4 separate regions of the Homo sapiens genome follow, and regions 1, 2 and 4 are each linked to region 3. Evidence: promoter capture Hi-C in 16 types of primary human blood cells and fetal thymus (Javierre and others, 2016). All regions are on one chromosome and are shown on one strand. The core of a region is centred on a gene start or on the middle of the fragment in contact, and the rest is flanking DNA. Distances in the headings are between cores, read along the strand shown. Region 1 holds the start of MRPL55 (mitochondrial ribosomal protein L55). Region 2 has its middle 130 kb from the start of PGBD5. Region 3 holds the start of RAB4A (RAB4A, member RAS oncogene family). Region 4 has its middle 120 kb from the start of PGBD5.

Evidence for each region. The method cuts DNA at HindIII sites, captures the fragments that hold promoters and counts their contacts. A CHiCAGO score of 5 or more calls a contact.
Region 1: a contact is called between the fragment with the promoter of MRPL55 here and the fragment with the promoter of RAB4A in region 3, in 1 of 17 cell types (monocytes). The highest score is 5.8, in monocytes.
Region 2: a contact is called between a fragment that was not itself captured here and the fragment with the promoter of RAB4A in region 3, in 1 of 17 cell types (naive B cells). The highest score is 5.6, in naive B cells.
Region 4: a contact is called between a fragment that was not itself captured here and the fragment with the promoter of RAB4A in region 3, in 1 of 17 cell types (fetal thymus). The highest score is 6.0, in fetal thymus.

The regions. Positions count from the first base shown.
Region 1 is chr1:228,108,000-228,112,582 of GRCh38, forward strand. MRPL55 (mitochondrial ribosomal protein L55) reads right to left here and starts at 1,300. Exons shown (of 5, transcript NM_181463.3): 1 at 1,150-1,300; 2 at 956-1,022; 3 at 236-319. The coding sequence starts at 261. RefSeq lists enhancers at 1-233, 234-947, 1,216-1,385 and a silencer at 1,656-1,745. The HindIII fragment of the contact is 15,311 bases long and covers 102-4,583 here.
Region 2 is chr1:230,290,208-230,294,885 of GRCh38, forward strand. No RefSeq gene overlaps it. Among named protein-coding and RNA genes, the nearest start is that of PGBD5, 130 kb to the right of the region's middle. The HindIII fragment of the contact is 233 bases long and covers 2,865-3,097 here.
Region 3 is chr1:229,269,671-229,274,363 of GRCh38, forward strand. It overlaps RAB4A (RAB4A, member RAS oncogene family), which reads left to right and starts at 1,441. Exons shown (of 8, transcript NM_004578.4): 1 at 1,441-1,700. The coding sequence starts at 1,670. It overlaps RAB4A-AS1 (RAB4A antisense RNA 1), which reads right to left and starts at 1,484. Exons shown (of 2, transcript NR_149313.1): 1 at 1,306-1,484. RefSeq lists silencers at 1,253-1,782, 1,823-1,982. The HindIII fragment of the contact is 1,493 bases long and covers 928-2,420 here.
Region 4 is chr1:230,308,735-230,313,528 of GRCh38, forward strand. No RefSeq gene overlaps it. Among named protein-coding and RNA genes, the nearest start is that of PGBD5, 120 kb to the right of the region's middle. The HindIII fragment of the contact is 4,195 bases long and covers 652-4,794 here.

The DNA of each region.
Region 1 (4,583 bases), core at 50-2,549, 1.2 Mb before region 3:
GCAGGATGAGCCTCGGGGCTTCCTCAGGAGCCACAGGCTGTGGTCAGAGGCGTTCTGGCCCCCTAGCCAGGAAGAGGCTGCCAGGCTGAGCAAGGGCACAAAGCTTCCAGCACAGGGGACAGTGGACAATAGCAAGGACTAGGGAGGATTAGAATGGCGGTTTCCTGCTGAAGAGAGGGGTTCCCTGGGGTGGCCCCTGACAGTAATCCCCAGGGACCTAAAAGTCCATGCTTACCCAAGCAGGCTGCCCACGGCCGCCATTCCTCCTTACAGCCCCAGTGGCACGTGGAGGTGGTCAGTACAGGCCCTGGCGTGCAACCTGCTAGGCAGAGAATGAAGAGATCTTTTTTAAAAGGAAGGTTCTTCCACCTAATGGTTTCTTATCAAATCCCAGCCCAGGATGCTTCCAAGACACATGTAATCACCACGCCACTCACCAACCTCTCCCAGCAACCCTTGGACTTCTCAGAACCGCCTGTAGAGGTTTTTCCAAAAGCAGAAGTTGGTCACTACTCCCAAAGATTCTGAGTCAGCCTGCGGCAGGGCCCAGGCTGTCTGTTCTGGCCGTTACCGAGTCTGCGAAACCTCTCTGAATGGACTGCAGCCTCAAAAGTGGAGCTGAGGTCATGCCTTGCTTTCTAAGGTCATTGCTAGTTTTAATAAAAACTCAGTGAAGTGAGGATTGTCATGCTTGCTTAAAGGAGAATGGAGGCCCAGGGCTGCTTTGCTGTGACCTGGATTCCCATGGGAGTCTGTGCTGAGGTGTGCGAAGTAAAAGCCCAGTTTTCAATACTCAGATTCCAGGAGATGAGGCTGCACAGAGGCCGAGCGCCCAGCTTCCTCTGGCGTACCCCTGTCTCTCACCAAGGAAGGGACCTGAAGACAGGTCCGGCTGCCTCTAAAATGGAAATCCTGCTACGTGTCCTATGCCCACATCCCTCTCCCTCGGCCTCACCAGCACAGGAGCCTGGGGCTGGTCCAGGAGGGTCTTCGGGGAAAGCTCCCTCTCCTTTCCTGCTAGACTGCATGGGGACAAGGGCTTATCACAGGTGCAGCCCCCTGTCCCCTTCCCTGCCTCCCTCCCTCCCGACTCCACCGGGAGGGTACAGCGCCTCCCGCCTCTGTTCCCGGCCCACACGAGGCGCCAACCTGCGGCCGCCACAGTCGCTGCGGAGGGGTCTGAGGACAGGCGGTCCTGACTCCCGCTGCCCGGTGGAACTAAGACCAGGGACGAGGCCACGCAGGAGATCAAGGTACTCACTGCGTTGGGTGCTGCTGCGCTGCAGCCCACGACGTCACTGGCAGGCGCTGCGTCGCGCGGTATGACGTGTTCCATGGCAGGGAGAGGCAAGAGTGGGCGGTGAGACACGAAGATATACGCCCCTGTTGGGCGGGGCCGGCGCGGCGTGATGTAATCTCGGGGGCGGGACGAAGCCTAGGTGGGCGGGGCCTGCGGGGGCGCTGTGGCGGTACAAGAACCCAGGCGGGGCCGGCGAGCAGGTGACCTCCGTCCCTACCGGGAGGACCAGGGCGGGCCGGCGAGGTCGAGGGGGACCCGCGGGTCTGAGGGAGGACGGAGTGGGGGAGTGCTGAGGGAGGACCCGGGGTGGGGAGCTGAGGGAGGATCCGCAGGGCTGAGGGAGGATCCAGGAGAGCTGATAGAGGTCCCGGAGGGCTGAGGGAGGACCCAGGGGTCCTGAGGGAGGACGCAGGGGGCTGAGGGAAGACGCAGGGGGGCTGAGGGAGGATCCTCGGAGCTGAAGGGGCATCAGCTGGGCTGAGGGAGGACCCAGGGGGACTGCGGGAGCACCCGGGCGGGGGCTGAGGGAAGGAGGATCCGCGGGGCTGAGTGGGCACCAGCTGGGCTGAGGGAGGATCCAGGGGGAGCTGCGGAAGGATCTGCGGGGCTGAGAGAGGATCTAGAAGGGGTGAGAGAGGTCCCAGGAGGCTAAGGGGGGAATCTGCAGAACTGAGGGAGGTCCCAGGGGGCAGTGAGGGAGGATCCATGGGCGCTGAGGTGGGAATCTAGGGAGGCTGAGGGAGGATCTGTGGGGATGACGGAAGTTCAAGGGGGGCTGAAGAGGCACGCAGCGGGCTGAGGAGGACCTGAGAGGCTGAAGGAGGATCCGAAAGGCTGATACAGCGGGGCTGAGGGGGGATCCGCGGGGTTGGCGGGGGCTGAGAAATGACCCTGTAGTTCACAGCAAAATGGAGTAATTTATGTCACAACGTAACCAAAATGGAGTGGGGAGGGCCCTAAGGAAGCAGCTGTCACGCATTTCTGAAATGCCAGAGAGGCTCGCTATTACCTTGTAAACAGAGCTTATTCCGGGCATTTCCACTGGCCTGCAGTATTCCAGATGAGATGTTTGGACCAGGGCAGGCAGATAGCATCGCCTATCTGCCTCAGCGAACCAGGGTCACTTTGTGCAATGAGTTCATGAGACCAGGGCCTTTGTTTTGTGAAAGTTACAAATAAGGAGTGAAATCACTTTGTCAGGCCCAGACAAACAGGGCTGGGAAGAACAGGAGGCTCAGGCTTAGTGTCTGAGATAAGAATTATTCGCAAGGACTTTCTAAAAACCCCACAAGAAACCCTTTTGTGTCATTCACGGGTCTCCTACTTTGACAAAATTTAGACCATCTTTAGGACTGCAGTAATTCAGTTAAGATGCTCGGAATAAACACTTGCCCAGTAATGGCAGCGCCACCAATGAACTGAGGACAACTTTGAGCTTTGGCGTTGGGCCCCTGGAACCAATGAACTCTTTCTAAGCAGCTTCTGTGAACCGCTCCCTTTTCGCTGATAAAAGTTCCCTTTTCACTGATAAAAAGTTCCCTTTACCCTTCCCTCACTGGGAATGCTGGTGGCTTGCTGCTGTTGATGAAAAGAGTCAAACTTTGTAAAATATTTTAAGAGATATATTCTGAGCCAAATATGAGTAACCATGGCCTGTGACACAGCCCTCAGGACAGAGGTCCTGAGAACATGTTCCCAAGGTGGTTGGGGTGCAGCTTGGTTTTATACATTTTAGGGAGGCATGAGACATCAATCAAATACATTTAAAACCTACATTGGTTTGGTTCAGAAAGGCAGGACAACTCGAAGCAGGGGTCAAGGGTGCTGGCTTCCAGCTTATAGGTAGATTGAAAAATTTTCTGTTTGACAATTGGTTGAATTTACCTGAAGACCTGGGATTAACAGAAAGGAATGTCTGGGTTAAGATAAAAGATTGTGGGTGGGGTGCAGTGGCTCACACCTGTAATCCCAGCACTTTGGGAGGCTAAGGCAGGCGGATCACGAGGTCAGGAGTTCGAGACCAGCCTGACCAACATGGTGAAACCTCCTCTCTACTAAAAATACAAAAATTAGCTGGGCGTGGTGGTGTGTGCCTGTAATCCCAGTTACTCAGGAGGCTGAGGCAGAAGAATCACTTCAGCCCAGGAGGCGGAGGTTGAAGTGAGCCGAGATTGCGCCACTGCACTCCAGCTTAGGCAATAGAGTGAGACTCCATCTAAAAAAAAAAAAAAAGGAAAGAAAAAAAAATATATATATATATGATTGTGGAGACCAAAGTTCTTATTTGCAGATGAAGCCTTCAGGTATTAGGCTTCAGAGAGAATAGGTTGTAAAATGTTTATCGGACTTAAAGTCTATGTTGATGTTAATGCCAGAGAGGTATAATGAGGCATGTCTGACCCCCACTTCTTATGGCCTGAACCAGTCTTTGAGGTTAAATTTTAAGAGTTCCAGGCCAGGCACAGTGGCTGACACCTGTAATCCCAACACTTTGGGAGGCAGAGGTGGGCGAATCACTTCAGGTCAGGAGTTCGAGACCAGCCTGGCCAACATGGTGAAACCCGGTCTCCACTAAAAAATATACAAAAATTAGCCAGGCATGGTGGTGCGCACCTGTAATCCCAGCTACTCAGGAGGCTGAGGCAGGAGAATCACTTGAACCTGGGAGGCAGAGGTTGCAGTGAGCAGAGATCGCACCACTGCACTCCAGCCTGGGTGACAGAGCAAGACTCCGTCAAAAAAAAAAAATTTTTTTTAAGAGTTCCCTGGCCGAGGAGGAAGTCCATTTAGATGGCTGGGGAGCCTTATAAATTTATTTTTTATTTTTGGTTTACACTTGATAAAAACTTCAGCCGAATTAAATTTAAAGTTTAATTGAGCAATGAATGATTCACGAATCACGCAGCCCCCAGAATCACAGCAGATTCACAGAGACTCCAGCACAGCCACGTGGTGGAAGATTCGTAGACAAAAAAAGGTAAATGATGTACAGAAATTGAAAGTAAAGTACAAAACAGCTGGATTGGTTTCAGGTTGGTGTTTGCCGTATTTGAACACAGTTTGAACGCTCAGCAGTATATGAATAGTTGAAGTGCAGCCTCTGGGATTGGCCAAGACGCAGCTATTGTTACAGTTGCATACTCCTGTTAGGTTTTCAATCTATCTACCTATTAAGCTAGGTTGCAGTTCATCCACAAGGACTCAAATATAAAAATATGAAGTCCTTCTCAGGCCATATTTAGTTTGCTTCAGCAACTACCCTCTTTTGGTCATTTTCTCAATT
Region 2 (4,678 bases), core at 1,731-4,230, 1.0 Mb after region 3:
GCTGGCCTGGGAACCACACTTTGAGGAGGCACAAGGCACTTAGTTCAGGCCGTGGCTAGTTTAGACAATAGGGATTGCCCACACTTCATACCAAAGGGTTATTACTGAGTTGCATGGCGGCCTGGAGAAGCGGTAGTGGGTAGGGCTCAGGTTGTGGTTCTGGGGCCGGACTGCTTGGTTCATGGCCTCAGGTCCGCTATTCCTGTGCCCTTGGATGCTTCATGGCTCGGATGTGGACCCTGTTACATGACCTCAGTCTCACCATCTCCGTTCTCTGTGCTCAGCTTCCTCCTCAGTTAAATGGGGAAATGAAATTCACAAAGTTGGCCGGGCGCGGTGGCTCACGCCTGTAATCCCAGCACTTTGGGAGGCCGAGGCGGGTGGATCACGAAGTCAGGAGATCGAGACCATCCTGGCTAACACGGTGAAACCCCATCTCTATTAAAAATACAAAAAAATTAGCCGGGCATGGTAGCAGGTGCCTGTAGTCCCAGCTACTCAGGAGGCTGAGGCAGGAGAATGGCGTGAACCTGGGAGGCGGAGCTTGCAGTGAGCCGAGATCGCGCCACTGCACTCTAGCCTGAGCAACAGAGCAAGACTCTGTCTCAAAAAAAAAAAAAAAGAAAAAAAAGAAAAGAAAAAAGAAAAGAAATTCACAAAGTTAGAGCCTTGGGGTGGTGAGATTCTCTCACTCCCCCTCTACCATGACCTGCTTCGTCAGAAAACCATTCCCCCTTCTGCTGCTTGAAGGGGTTTAATACCATGGATCTGCACCTCGTAGTTTCAATTTGGAATTTTTTAGTTCAGAGGACTTTGAGTGACAGACATTCTAAAAATCAAAGTAGGTAACAAAATGAATAAGGGTTGCAGAGAGTATTCAAATGCAGACAGTGAGAGCTCATGGAGGTGAAGAATCAGGCCTTGATCTGCACAGTTACCCAGAAAGTAGAATCCCTCATGGATGCTGAGCTTGGGGCTGAGGCTGCCAGCTCCCTCTCTGCACTTTAGAAACAGGTCTGCATGTAACCCACCTAAACACAGCCCTCTAACCTCTCTGTTCTTCTTCTCCTGGATGAAAGATTTGGGTGATGAATAAAATGATAGTCTGGGCCACCCTTTTCCACCTCACCTGAAAGGCCAGGAAATAGAACTAAGAAGTGTGTTTAAGGAATCATTTTAGGCCTGGGGCAGTAGCTCACATCTATAATCCCAGCACTTTGGGAGGCTGAGGCGGGAAGATGACTTGAGCCCAGGAGTTGGAGACCAGCCTTGACAACATAGTGAGACCCTGTTGCTACAAAAAATTAAAAAATTAGCCAGGTGTGGTGGTGTGCACCTGTGGTCCCAGCTACTTGGGTGGCTGAGGTGGGAGGATCGCTTGAGCCTAGGAGTTGGAGGCTGCAGTGAGCTGTGACTGTGCCACTGCACTCCAGCCTAAGTGAAAGAGTGAGACCCTGTGTGTAAAAAAAGGAAGAAATCATCTTAGTACAAGTTCTTCCTTTTGAAGAATTTCAGACACTTAATTGCTTTGTTTGTGCTAACTCTTTAAGGAAGCGGCTGGGTATAGGGCCAGCTCCCTGGGGGGAGCGGTGAAGTGGGGAGTGGTGAAGTGGGGAGCAGTGACGGTGAGGGGGAGGGGGGAGCGGTGAGGGAGGGAAGCGGTGTGGGGGGAGCGGTGAGGTGGGGAGCGGTGAAGGAGGGAGCGGTGAGGTGGGGAGCGGTGAGGCGGGGAGCCGTGAATGGGGGACCGGTGAGGGGGCAAGTGGTGAAGCGGGGAGTGGCAGGTCCTCCTCTACGGTGGCTGTTCTCTGCCCCTCACCCTGGGGTGCTGCTCTGCCGCCCGGCTCCTCACACTCTCCCTTGGATTCGAATGACAGCGTGACCTCAGGTCCCCTATTCCTGTGCCCTTGGATGCTCCAAGCAGGTGAGGAAAGGGAGGAAATAGGTTCTTGGGGCTCTAGCCACGTCAGGTGAATAGAATCAGGAAATGTCCACCATGTCCTCTTCCTGCTGCCAGGGATAGCAGGGCTCCTGAGAAGGACACCGCATCCCGGCGAGGCGAGGTCGGAGAGGGGGCCGGGGCACAGCTGCCAGAGTGATGGGCGCTCTTGTCTGTCAAAAGCCCCTTTTCATAATGGCCGTTCTGGGAGAAGAGAAGCTCAGGCTGGCAGCTTGGGTCTCACATACCTGACTGACTGTCATTAATTGCCTCTCGCAGGCTCTTGCCCTCTCCACCTCTCTCTCTTTCCTTCTCCCTCCCTCTCTCTCTCAACCTGCCTCTCTCTTTCCCTCCTCTCTCTCTCTCAACCTGCCTCTCTCTTTCCCTCCTCTCTCTCTCTCAACCTCTCTTTCCTGCTCCCTCTCTCTTTCCCTCTCCCTCTCTCTCTTTCTCCCTCCCTCCCTCTCTCTCTCAACCTGCCTCTCTCTTTCCCTTCCTCTCTCTCCTTCTCTTGCTCTAAAAATTCAGATGTTTTCTCCCCAAACACATTTTTTCTTTGTTTGTTTTTGTTTTTGTTTTAATTTTAGCCAAGTTAGTCCCAGAGGCAGCAAATCCAAATCGTGAGGCCGTCTCAGGGGTGCATTATTCTAGGGAGGGCCTCTCTGACGTGTCCATGGGAGACACCCTTAGAGCAAGGAGCGGATGGGAAAGCTCATGGACACAGCCTGCATGTCAGCGGCCTTTCCAAGAGCTGTTGCCTGGGCAATGAAATGGAGAGATTTTGAAAAGCCTCTCTCAGCGTGTCCACACCTGTCCTGCTAGCACGCCACCTGTGGTGTTATTAAAATCACTTGTCCTGTGGCGGCTGCTGCTACAATATGTGTCTCCCAGAGGGGAGAGCCACAGTTCATTAACCTGATTATTAAGCTTCATTAACTTGACTCATCCACTACTAACTAACCCTGCACTGCCCTGAGAATCAGATGATGGCCTCACAGGCAGCAAGAGAAGGCAGAGACCCAGAGAGCCAGATGCACCCGTGTCCGTGTGTGGATCAGGCAGCATGCTCTAGTGGAAGGCACCTGTGCTCCCGATGCCTGGCTGGACTCTTCGGGTGGGTCACACTGCCATCCTGGAGATGAAGAGCCCCCTCCAATAAGCTTGTCAATGCTTTTCCCTGAGAGCTTTGTATGAAGGCATCCTCCTGTTAGGAAAACACACAGATGTTCACTGCCCTCAGGATTAAACCACGTGCACGCTGGCATCCAGGCTGGGACACACTGGCATTCAGCCTGGGAGGCTCTGAGCACCCAGGACGTGGGATTTGAGGCAGAGGAGTCAGTGAACAGGGGGAACCAGCAGATGGGCATCAGTGAGCAGCTGAACGCAGCTGGAGAGAAAGGAGAAGCTAAGCCCGAGAATGGACGCCAGCCCCATCACCCTCTCGGCCTGAGGATGCTGGATTTGCTGTGGTGCTGTCATTGTGGAAGGAGACAGATCCCAGGAACTTTCATACCAGGAGGCCTGTGTCAACCTGCCTCTCTCCTCCTTCTGCAGGGACTATGCTGGCCTCTTCAAAGTCTAGGTCTTTCCAACCATCGTTTGTGGAAAGACTTTATGGCAAGGAGCACGCAAGAGGCAGCAGACAGGGACGTCATTCATGTGAGAATCTGTAGTGTCTCCCCATGGGAAAGCCTGCTCTTTGGAGAGGGCAGGATGACCATAGAATTGCTCAGACTCGGTGGCCTGGCAGGTGCTGTGAGCAAACAGGTAAACAGCTTCAGGACAGGAGCCTTCAATCCCTTATCCTGCTCCCAAGCATTCGGGGAGAGGGGCCCTAGAGAGAGACTGGAAAGGGTACAATGTGCTCAAGGAATGAAATGGCTTGTGGAGGGCTGCCCAGAGATGGTGGGTCCAGTTCAAATCAGTTCTGCCTCTGTTCATAATCCCACCCACACCAGGCATCAGCCGGAGCTGACCTGCAGGCCAGAAAGAAAGAAGGGGCCAGAAAGTTTAGTTCCATAAGGGCCAGATGGCCTGAGCAATGCCCATCAGTCAGACTTGTCTTGGGGATTGCTAAGATACAACTGTGCTGAAAGTGTTATACTTTTAGTAAAAAAAATACATTCTGAGGCTGGGCGCGGTGGCTCATGCCTGTCCTCCCAGCGACTCAGGAGGCCAAGGCAAGAGGATCACTTGAGGCCAGGAGTTCAAGACCAGCTTGGGCAACACAAGACCTCATCTCTACAAAAATAAGCAAACAAATAGATACACTTTGATACAGTTGATACAATAATATCAACTGACACTTGGATAGTATTAGGTTGGTGCAAAAGTTATTGGGGTTTTTGCCATTATGTTTAATAACTTTTGCACCAACCTATATTTATAGTAGACTGAATAATTGCCACGCAAAGATGTTAGGTCCCAATCTCTCATATAGAGCCATGAGCCCATTGGGTGGAGCCCAAGCCATAGACGGTTATCACCAGCCCCGAGCCCTAATGGAACGTGCCCTAATGGAACTCCTGCCCTGCTGGAGTCCTTCATTGCGTGAGACTCATGACTCCTTTCTTCCTTTCACTGTTCCCTTTTGGAATGGGAGAGTCTATCATTGTTTCGCTGTTATACCACACCTGTTATACCACATTGCTTTTGGAATAAATTGATTTTCTAGTTTCACAGGTCCAGAGATAGGAAGGAATTTTTTTCCAGGATGAATCAGATCCAGAGTCTAAC
Region 3 (4,693 bases), core at 191-2,690:
AAATGATCTGAGCCACTGAACAAGAAATATATATAAAACAGTTTTAGGAATTACAGCTGTCACAACTTTTCACCATGGGGCCTTCTCTGTGATTTAGAAAAAACTGCATTTATTTGTTATTAGGATCGGAGACAAGAGAAAAATACCGACCCAAATAGCCACTGGGGAAGAGGGAAGCTCTGATGCCAATTTATGTGGAGGATGGAGCCAAACTGACTCACACACACACACACAAAAGTATGTACTGGCATTTTCCACACAGTCCAGGTCACTTGGGAGCTTAGCCAAGGATATTTTGAGCATTCGACTACCTATTGTGAACAAGGTTGGGAACTATGAGGCGCTATGTGGCCCTGATCAAGCTCAGATGGGCCAAATCCTCAACCAAAATTCTCTTTCCCATAAATGTTTATCTCTACATTTCCCACAGAAGGGGATTCTAACTCAGTTTTGCTTCTGAAACCAAACTATCCAAGGCCAGGTGAGATGACTCATGCCTGTAATCCCAGCAATTTGGGAGGCCAAGGAGGGAGGATGCTTGAACTCAGGAGTTCAAGACCAGCCTGGGCAACATAACAAGACCCCATCTCTACAAAAAATTTAAAAATTGGCGCGGTGTGGTCGTGTGAGCCCCTAGCCCCAGCTACTCAGGAGGCTGAGGCAGGAGAATCGGTTGGGCTGGGCTGACAGTGCCAGACCCTGTTAAAAAATAAAAATTAAAAAAACTCCTAAATTTGGAAACACATCCCCAGCTGAGGGCCGGGAGATACTTCTCAACCGTAATCCAGAACCCTCTAAAATGGGATGTGGAGAGGCTGCAGCCTGTAGTCTTGCGATGACCTTTTAGCACCTGGGCATCTTGCGCTTCTGTCATTCCGCCCACACCCGCTCAGCTCCATCCAAGAGGGCCCGGCAGTTTGGAGTGAAAGCTTAGCTTCCCAACGGGTAAATGAACCTGCCTCCCATTCACAGGGCGGCCTCTGGCTGGACACCTGGGGCCTACTGCCTCCTTGTTACACATTAACCAAGTTCTGGCCTCCATCGTAACAGCGTCAGGGAAGTTTTTTCCTGGCTGACAGCCGCAGATGATGACCGAAGACAACGTCTTAACTGAGACGGGCCAATTTGGCAAATGGACTGCTTTCCTCCCCAGTGCGGGCACCTTCCTCCTCTGTCCGGCAACTGGACCCCACTGTCCCCAGCCCTCTGTCACCCCCAAACCTGCCCACCGCCCGCCTCTACCCGACCCTCCCTCAGGGAAATCGGGACTCAGCCCCCAACGCCCCCACCTGCCGCTCTGCCCACCTCAGCGCACACCGCCAGAGCGCCCAGCCCGCGCACGTGCTTCCGGCGCGCGCCGAAGTCCTCACGCGCCCCGCCCCGGCCTCCCCGTGCGCACGCGCGAACGCGGGGTGGGCCGGGCCTCGCGTAGCCCATCTCCTCTTCCTCCTCGCGGTCGCGGCCGGACGGAGGGTGGAGGGCCCTGCGCCTGCGCGGAGCTGGAGTCCGGCTGGGCCGCAGCCGCTGGGAGACCGGCGGTTGCCGTGGGGACCGGTCGGGCCCCTCCCTCCTCCGGTCCCCCGCCCCAGGTCCTTCCCCACCGAGACGCGCCGGCGGACCGCGGGCGAGTGCAGCCGGTGACCCGGCGAGAGGCGGCGCCGCTCCCAAGATGTCGCAGACGGCCATGTCCGAAACCTACGGTACGAGGCCCGGGCTGGCGGGGCGCGCGGGTCGGGCCGCGGGGGGCGTCGGTGGCGCGGGGCCGGGCCTGGGCTGCGGGGGTCTTGAGGGTGGCGGTGGCGCCGGCCGGAGCCGGGGGACGGATCTCGGAGGTGTCTGGGCTTGGGACCGGGATGGGGGACGCGGGCCGCTGGGGGCTCGGGTGGGGTAGCGGGTGCGCGGGGCGCGGGGGCGCTGTGCACAGCGCATTGGCGTGATCCGCCTTTTCAAGTTTCCTCTTGCTCTTTCTCTGCTCTTGCACTCTTAGCGCTTTTCCCCTCTCAGTCTAATGTAAATAACTGAAGGTTTGAAAAGCCAGCTTGATGTTCGGTTTCAGCTGCGATATTATCCCCAGCGAGCCTGTGAAGGGCTTAGGGCGACGCCTGTGTTCCTCAAATACTTCAGTTTGACCTTTCCTGGTTTGGAATTCCTTGCTTTACATTGGGATTACAGTGAGGAGTTATTAATAGGCTAATTCATTCATCTCTTCCTCCGGAGACCTCTTGCTTCGTTTATTTCTCCCTCCCTCTCAGTGTTTTTTAGCCTTTTCTGGGTTGCATTTTGGCTATTTATAAACATGTCTTGTCTCCTTCTTAAGACCGTAAGCACCTTGGAAGCAAAGCCCTGGCTGTTTAATCTTTGTTTCCCCTGCAGCACCCAGACCTGGAGGTGCTTGACAAATACTGTTTTGAATAAGCGAAAGCTTTCCCAGTGCATATGCTGTGTGCTTTTTTTTTTTTCTCCCCTTTTTTGGCCTTGCGTGGTAAGAATAAACAACTTGTACTTTGTATCAGAGTTGAATATTAATAGATGTTTACCAGTCCCTAATCACTCTTTCAGATGTATGTATTCTCAGATTAAGACTTTGATTTGGAGTTTTACAGTCCCAGAGAGAGGCTCAAGTTCAAAATTACATACCTCAAGCCAAATTAGTCCTGTCTCCATCTGTCCTGGCATGCTGCTTCCTTCTCTGCAACAAATACTGTGGAATGGCATTAGGGAAGCGAGCACCGTGCTGGGAGGGCTGTACATCCTGCAGAAACACAGCAGACACGGCTCTGGTCTCATGGAGCGTAGTCTATTGAGGGAATGCAGTATTAATCCAATTGTGATACTAATGAGTGAATAATTAAAAACCAGGCAAGAGTTCTGAAGGAGTGTGGTCCGTGAAAGTGTGTTAGAAAGAAAGATGACCCAGACAGGGGTGTCAGGGAGGCATTAACCAGGCAGCACGCAGAACATCTCAGGCCTGTGGGAAGGGTAACTCAAGAAGGGTGTGTTTTGAGTACCACGCTGGAGAGGTGGATGAGGAGGCAGAGAGGAGAGGGTCTTGAGGAAGGCGTCAGTTTGTCTTGTAAGAAAAAATGGGAACTTTTGGAAGGGCTTCCATGCTGGGGTCACAGTGCATTTGGTCCACCTTCAGTGAGTGACTCCTGTGACTGGTACTGCCCTGTTCTTGGTGACAAAGGGGCATGACATCTGTTCCTAGAAGGCGTAGGAAATCCTCCAGTAAGTCGATGCCTTCATCAGGACAAGTGTTTGCAAATGTTTCTGCAAATGGCAGTGGTCTGGTTCTTCCTGTAGAGAACCACAGTCAGAAATGTTGTAAGGAAAACATGGTCTTTAGCAATTTTTGGTTACATCTTTGCACTTCTTTATTTTCAAGTGCTCTTTAGCCCAGGCTTAGTTTCTTTAACCTGAGTAAGGAGCACGGAGCACTAGGGGAAGGGTGGAATGTCCAAATAAGAAAAGCAAGTGGGGGTCATGAATCAGTAAGAAAGGATTGGAAGAGTTCAGGAGATAGAGCTTTTATGTTTCATTTTTCGTATACGCATGATAACAACTGATAAAATAGAGCTTATCTTTGGCATCTCCACTTCAGACACAGTTAACTGAACTTTTGAGCTTCACAGATTGATTACATTCTGATCATAAGGCTTTGACCATTAGTATTCTTATTTCATGGTAACTTCCAAGTATGTTTTTACTTTGCAACTCTGAATTGAATCTTTTCTTCTAATAGAGGAAATTAATCGAAAACTAGTAGAAACTAATAAATAGAAAATGAGGCCAGAGGTGATGGCTCACGCCTGTAATCCCAGCACTTTGGAAGGCCGAGTTGGGCGGATCACTTGAGCTCAGGAGTTCAATACCAGCCTGGCCAACATGGCGAAACCCCAGCCCTATTAAAAATACAAAAAATTACCTGGGCATGGTGGTACGCTTGTAGTCCCGGCTACTTGGGAGGCTGAGGCATGAGAATTGCTTGAACCCAGGAGGTGAAGTTTACAGTGAGCCAAGATTGTGCCACTGCACTCCATCCTGGGCAACAGAGTGAGACTCTGTCTCAAAAAAAGAAAATGAGTTTTAGAAGGAGCAAGCAGGACAGTTGAAGTTTGCCAAGCTGAAGTAAAAGTCACCTAGAACCAAGTCCTAGGCTGTCACTTTGACGTATCAGTGGCCATATTTATACAGCATTGTTCCTTAAAAGTGAAACAGTCAGGCTCTCTTCTGGACATTTGCCTCTGAGCTGGTGAAGGAATGTTTGCCTAACCTTTAAACTCCTTTGTACTCTGTGCTTATTTGCTCTTCTGTAAAAGGAGGCTCTGTGTAGCTTGACAGAGAGATGAGGAATGAAATGTACTGGGTTTTTGTTTCCCTTTTTTTTTTTTTTTTTTTTTGAGACAGGACCTCGCTCTGTCACCCATGCTGGAGTGCAGTGACACAATCACGGCTCACTGCCACCTCCATCTCCCCATCTCAAGTGATCCTCCCACTTCAGCCTCCTGAGTAGCTGGGACCACAGGTGCATGCCACCACACCTGGCTAATTTTTTTTTTTTTTTTAATTTTTTTTGTAGAGACGAGGTCTCTGTCTGTTGCTCAGTCTCATCCCGAACTCCTGGGCTCAAGTGATCCTCGTGCCTCCACCTCCCAAAATGTTGAGATCACAGGCATGAGCCACTGTGCCCTGC
Region 4 (4,794 bases), core at 1,499-3,998, 1.0 Mb after region 3:
CACAAGGACCCTGGGAAGAAAGCTAGGCAGGTATTCTTAGGCCCACTGTATAGCAGGGGAAATGAGGCCCAGAAAGGCTGTTGACTCCTTTAGGGTGCAGAGCATGTGCGGTGAGGCTGAACCTGAACTCAGGGCTACAGATGCAGTCTTGAGCGTGCCACCTGCACGCCCAGGTCGTCCAGGTATCAAAAGGCAAGTGCGAAACCCTCGGGGCACCACGAAACACTGGGAGTCAGCACTGTGGCTTGACAAGGCCCCAGGCCGCCTGTGCTCCGTGCCCCATGGTTTCTTGGGCATGGCCAGAGTCACCAGAAGCGGTGCGGGTCCTCGGAGAGCCCTGCAGCCCCCAGCCCGGCTTTGCTTCTCGCCATCTCACAGCAGTCTGTGGGTGCCGCCAGTCTCCCGCACATGCCACCACATTGGCCAAGGAAAGGCTCGCAAGTGAGACATGAATTCCCCAATTAAGCTTGCTGGAATTGTGCCCCAAAATAAAGAAATTAATTAAAGTCTTTTTGCCAGCATCAACTGGGCCGGAGGTGGGCTTGGACGCCCCATCTTGGAGCTCACGCCTCCTTCTGAGAGCGCATCCTTAGCTCCCTGGCATCTTGTGCATTGGAGGCAATAAAGGTCCAAGGCAGGGAAGACCTCAGAAGCTTGGGTGGCTCCACTGTGTCCCTGCTGCCTGTTGGTGACCCACAGCGTCCTATGGGTCAGGGGAAGGCTAAGCTGTCCCGGGTCAGGAGGCACAACCTCCTTACCACCTTGACTGTGTCCCTGCAAGTTAACCAATGACACAGAACAATCCAGATGTTTGTTGGGTGTAGTGGCGGGAAGAGCCATTTGCTCCTAGATATTTTCCAAAAGAGAGACGAGTCACGTGGTCTGGGAGACGGTGTGATGCTGAGGAAACATGGGAGTTTTGGGTTCAAATACTTCTGGGTTCAAATCCTGACCGTCCTTTACTTAGGGAGGCGTGAGCGTGTTTGAGCGTCACTATTCTCATTTGTAAAATGGAGAGGAAGGCATAAGGGGTGAGAGACAGGGCTGCCCAGAAACCTTGCTCTAGGCCAGAGGTCCTCAACCTAGGCCTCGGGTGGAACCCAGGCACCCGCAGTGATTCCAACATAGAACAGCTGTGGACCAGACTGTGGTGGGTCCTCGGAGTCACCTGGCAGTCCCTCTTGTCAGACCTTGCTCCAATCTGGCCTCTCAGGGAGCGTGGCTACACCAGCCTGCTGCTCCCCACTCCCCGACACTCCCCAAATCCTGCTCTATGTTTTCCTTTTCCGTAACACTCGGTGTCCTTTAAAAGATTCTGCTGAGGCCGGGTGTGGTGGCATACGCCTATAATCCTAGCACTTTGGGAGGCCAAGGCGGGTGGATCACCTGAAGTCAGGAATTCGAGACCAGCTTGGTGAACATGGTGAAACCCTGTCTCTACTAAATATACAAAAATTAGCCAGGCGTGGTGGCACGTGCCTGTAATCCCAGCTACTCAGGAAGCTGAGGCAGGAGAATCCAGGAAGCTGAGGCAGGAGAATCACTTGAACCCGGGAGGTGGAGGTTGCAGTAAGTCGATATCGCGCCATTGCACTCCACCTGGGGGGACAAGAGCGAAACTGTCTTGAAAAAAAAAAAGATTCTGTGACCCTTTTTGTGTTTATGGTGCTCTCTCCTCCTGTGGAACGTAAGCTCCATGAAGGCAGGGGCCTCTGTGTTGGTGACTGTCCCCAGAAGTGCCCGGCCCCTAACAAGTACTGGTAAACACTGGCTGGAAGCCGAAATGTGGAATCAGCAAGCCCCTTTTCCATTCCTGTCCCCATCACTTTACGGTGCTATAGTCTCCATGACTTTGCTTATTGTTCTCTCCCCTTGCTCTGGACCAGCAGAGACCTCGTCTGTCTTATTTAGGGCAGTGTCCACAGTGCCTGGAACACTGTCCACTCCAAACTCCGAAGGCATTTGTTGAACGAATGCGCTATTGTGTGCAGGGGACGGAGGCTCATAAGGTGTCCTCTGCTGCCCTCTGCTGGGCAGCCATGGGAAAGGCTTCATCTCAAAGAAGGTGGACAGTCCGAAAAGGGGGAGGGTGAAAATTTGGTTTGGGAGCAGGTTGTTAATTACATATTTTTCGTTTTAACTCTGTTAAAATCAGACAAATCTGCCTACACCTTCCCACTCTCCTAGGCCCTTCTTCATTCCATCCATGCCAGGACAACAATCCTGGATTTTTATTTTTATTTTTTTTAATTAAGATAATTTTTAATTGATATCTAATAGATGTACATATAGTTTCAGGGCATCCTGGATTTTGAAGTATTCCATCCTGTTAACTCCATGAACACACTTATTCTCGCAGGCACTGGCTCTCCTTTTTGGGGTTGGACTCCCCTCTCCTGGTCTCTCGACGTTTGCTTTGCTGGAGGGTGAGTGTGAACAGAGCCGCTACCAGCATTGGGCCTCACTCAGGCCGCATAAGGTCAGACTGCTGCTAAGGGTTGGGGCGACTCAGGGAAGGACAGCTCTCCATCTTTTTCTAGTTCCTGGGACTGAGGAGAGTGTGAGAGGGGGACAGAGAGGGTGAATCAGCCACAGCCTAACTGGGAAATGCTTGGCACAGAAAAATCTCGTGTCCAGTTACCTTTGGCTTCTTCGGGATCGAGAGCCTCCTCCCTCCAGACTGGTTACTGTTCCTTTAGGCAGGTTTCTTTTTTAATTTTTAAGTTTTAGAGGCAGGGTCTCACTGTGTCTTATCTAGGCTGGAGTGCAGTGGCGTGACCATAGCTCACTGCAGCCTCGACTACCTGGGCTAAAGTGATCCTCTTGCTCCAGCCTCCCCAGGAATTGGAACCAGAAATTTTTAATGTGTATAGACTTCACATTCTCTTGCCTGGTACTGTCAGGGTGGTTTAACCTGGGCAGAATTTTCAGACTCATGTCTATTGGCCCAAGATCCTCCCAGTGACAAATCCCTGAGCTTTTTGGCTCTAAATCAGCTAGTGTCACGTGGGTTTGTTCCAAAAAACGAGTCTACTCATTCTGTAGAATAACATCCACACCTGACCTCTCTCTGGCCATGTCAGTCTCCCATAGCAATTACTTTTAAAATATTCTGCCCCAGAGACAGAACATGATTCATGTATCCCCATTTGTGGTTGGGAAAATACGGGCTTCATTCCTTGATTAATTTTTACATACTATTATCACTCTGGCCACATGAGATATTGCGTTTGTGTCTCTCCCACTATTTGACAGCCCTTGATGGCAAAGACTGTCCTTGCTTATACCCTTAGTGTTTAGCATAGTGCCTACTGATTTGGAAGAGCTCAATTAAAGTGTTTTGAATGAATGACTTAGTCCACTTGCCCTGTACTATTCTTCTGCTCAAACTAGAACATGTTTGTCTTTTTTTGTGTGTATTCCTGTGCATGTCCCCAAAGGCCCACAGCCCTGGGAGATGGTTCTGTTTTTTTGTTTGTTTGTTTTTGTTGTTGTTGTTATTGTTTCAAACAAACAGCGTCTTGTTTGGGCTAAAGTGATCCTGGGCTAAAGTGATCCTTCAGCCCAAGCTGAAGTGCAGTGGTGCAATCAGTGCTCACTGCAGCCTTGAATTTCTGGGCTTGAGCGATCCTCTGCCTCAGCCTCCCAAGTAACTGGGACTGCAGGCTGCAGGTGCATGCCACCATGCCCAGCTAATTTTTTTTTTTTTTTTTTTTTTGGAGACGAAGTCTTGCTCTGTCACCCAGGCTGGAGTGCAATGGCGCTATCTCGGCTCACTGCAACCTTTACGTCCCGGCTGCAAGTGATTCTCCTGCCTCAGCCTCCCTAGTAGCTGGGATTACAGGCGTGTGCCACCAAGCCCAGCTAATTTTTGTATTTTTAGTAGAGACAGGGTTTTGCCATGTTGGCCACGTTGGTCTTGAACTCCTGACCTCAAGCAATCCACCCACCTCAGACTCCCAAAGTGCTGGGATTACAGGTGTGAGCCACAGCACCCAGCCCAGCTAAATTTTTAAATTCTATTTCTCAGAGACAGGGTCTCACTATGTTTCCCAGGTTGGTTTGGAACTCCTGGCCCCATGTGATCCTCTTGCCTTGGCTTCCCAAAGTGCTGGGATTATAGGCATGAGCTACTGCGCCCCAGCACCACTGGGAGATGTGATCAGCATTCAGTCAATGTGGCAGGGAAGGCTGGGCCCTGGGATCAGTAAACTAAATCCCATTATCCTATTCATCTATAAACGGTCTTTTGAATCCTCCTTGTTGGAGTTTTTCCTCGTTATGGATGTCTCTACCCTCAAAATGTCTTGGATACAAAAGGTTATGTCCTCACCCTACTACCGTTGAGAGGGGAAGGTCCCTGTGCACCGTGGGAACCCTGAGGCTGGAGAACCTGTATGCCAGGTGATGGGCTAGGGGACGGGCATCCAGAGGGGGACATCTGGGGACATGGATTATCTGTGCTCAGCAAAGGAATGTGGGGGAGGGGAAGAGGAGAAGGGAAGAAGAGAGGGAGGAAGAGGAGGGAGGGAGAAAGAGAAGGAATAGATATTTGTAAAGGACAGAGTCAGAGGCCATGAAATGTGGAAAAGAAAATGAGGGGAAATCATATAAAAGATAGTGGTAAAGGGAAGGCTCTGATTTTATAAAATAAATCATTACATCAGGGATAAACACAACAAAAGTAAAGGTAAATTTAGTGCTTACTAAAGGGTCTGCAAAGATTTGAAATCGTTAACATTTTAAGAGTGTTTGAAAATTATTTTTGGCTTGTAGAAAAACAAGGCATGTTTG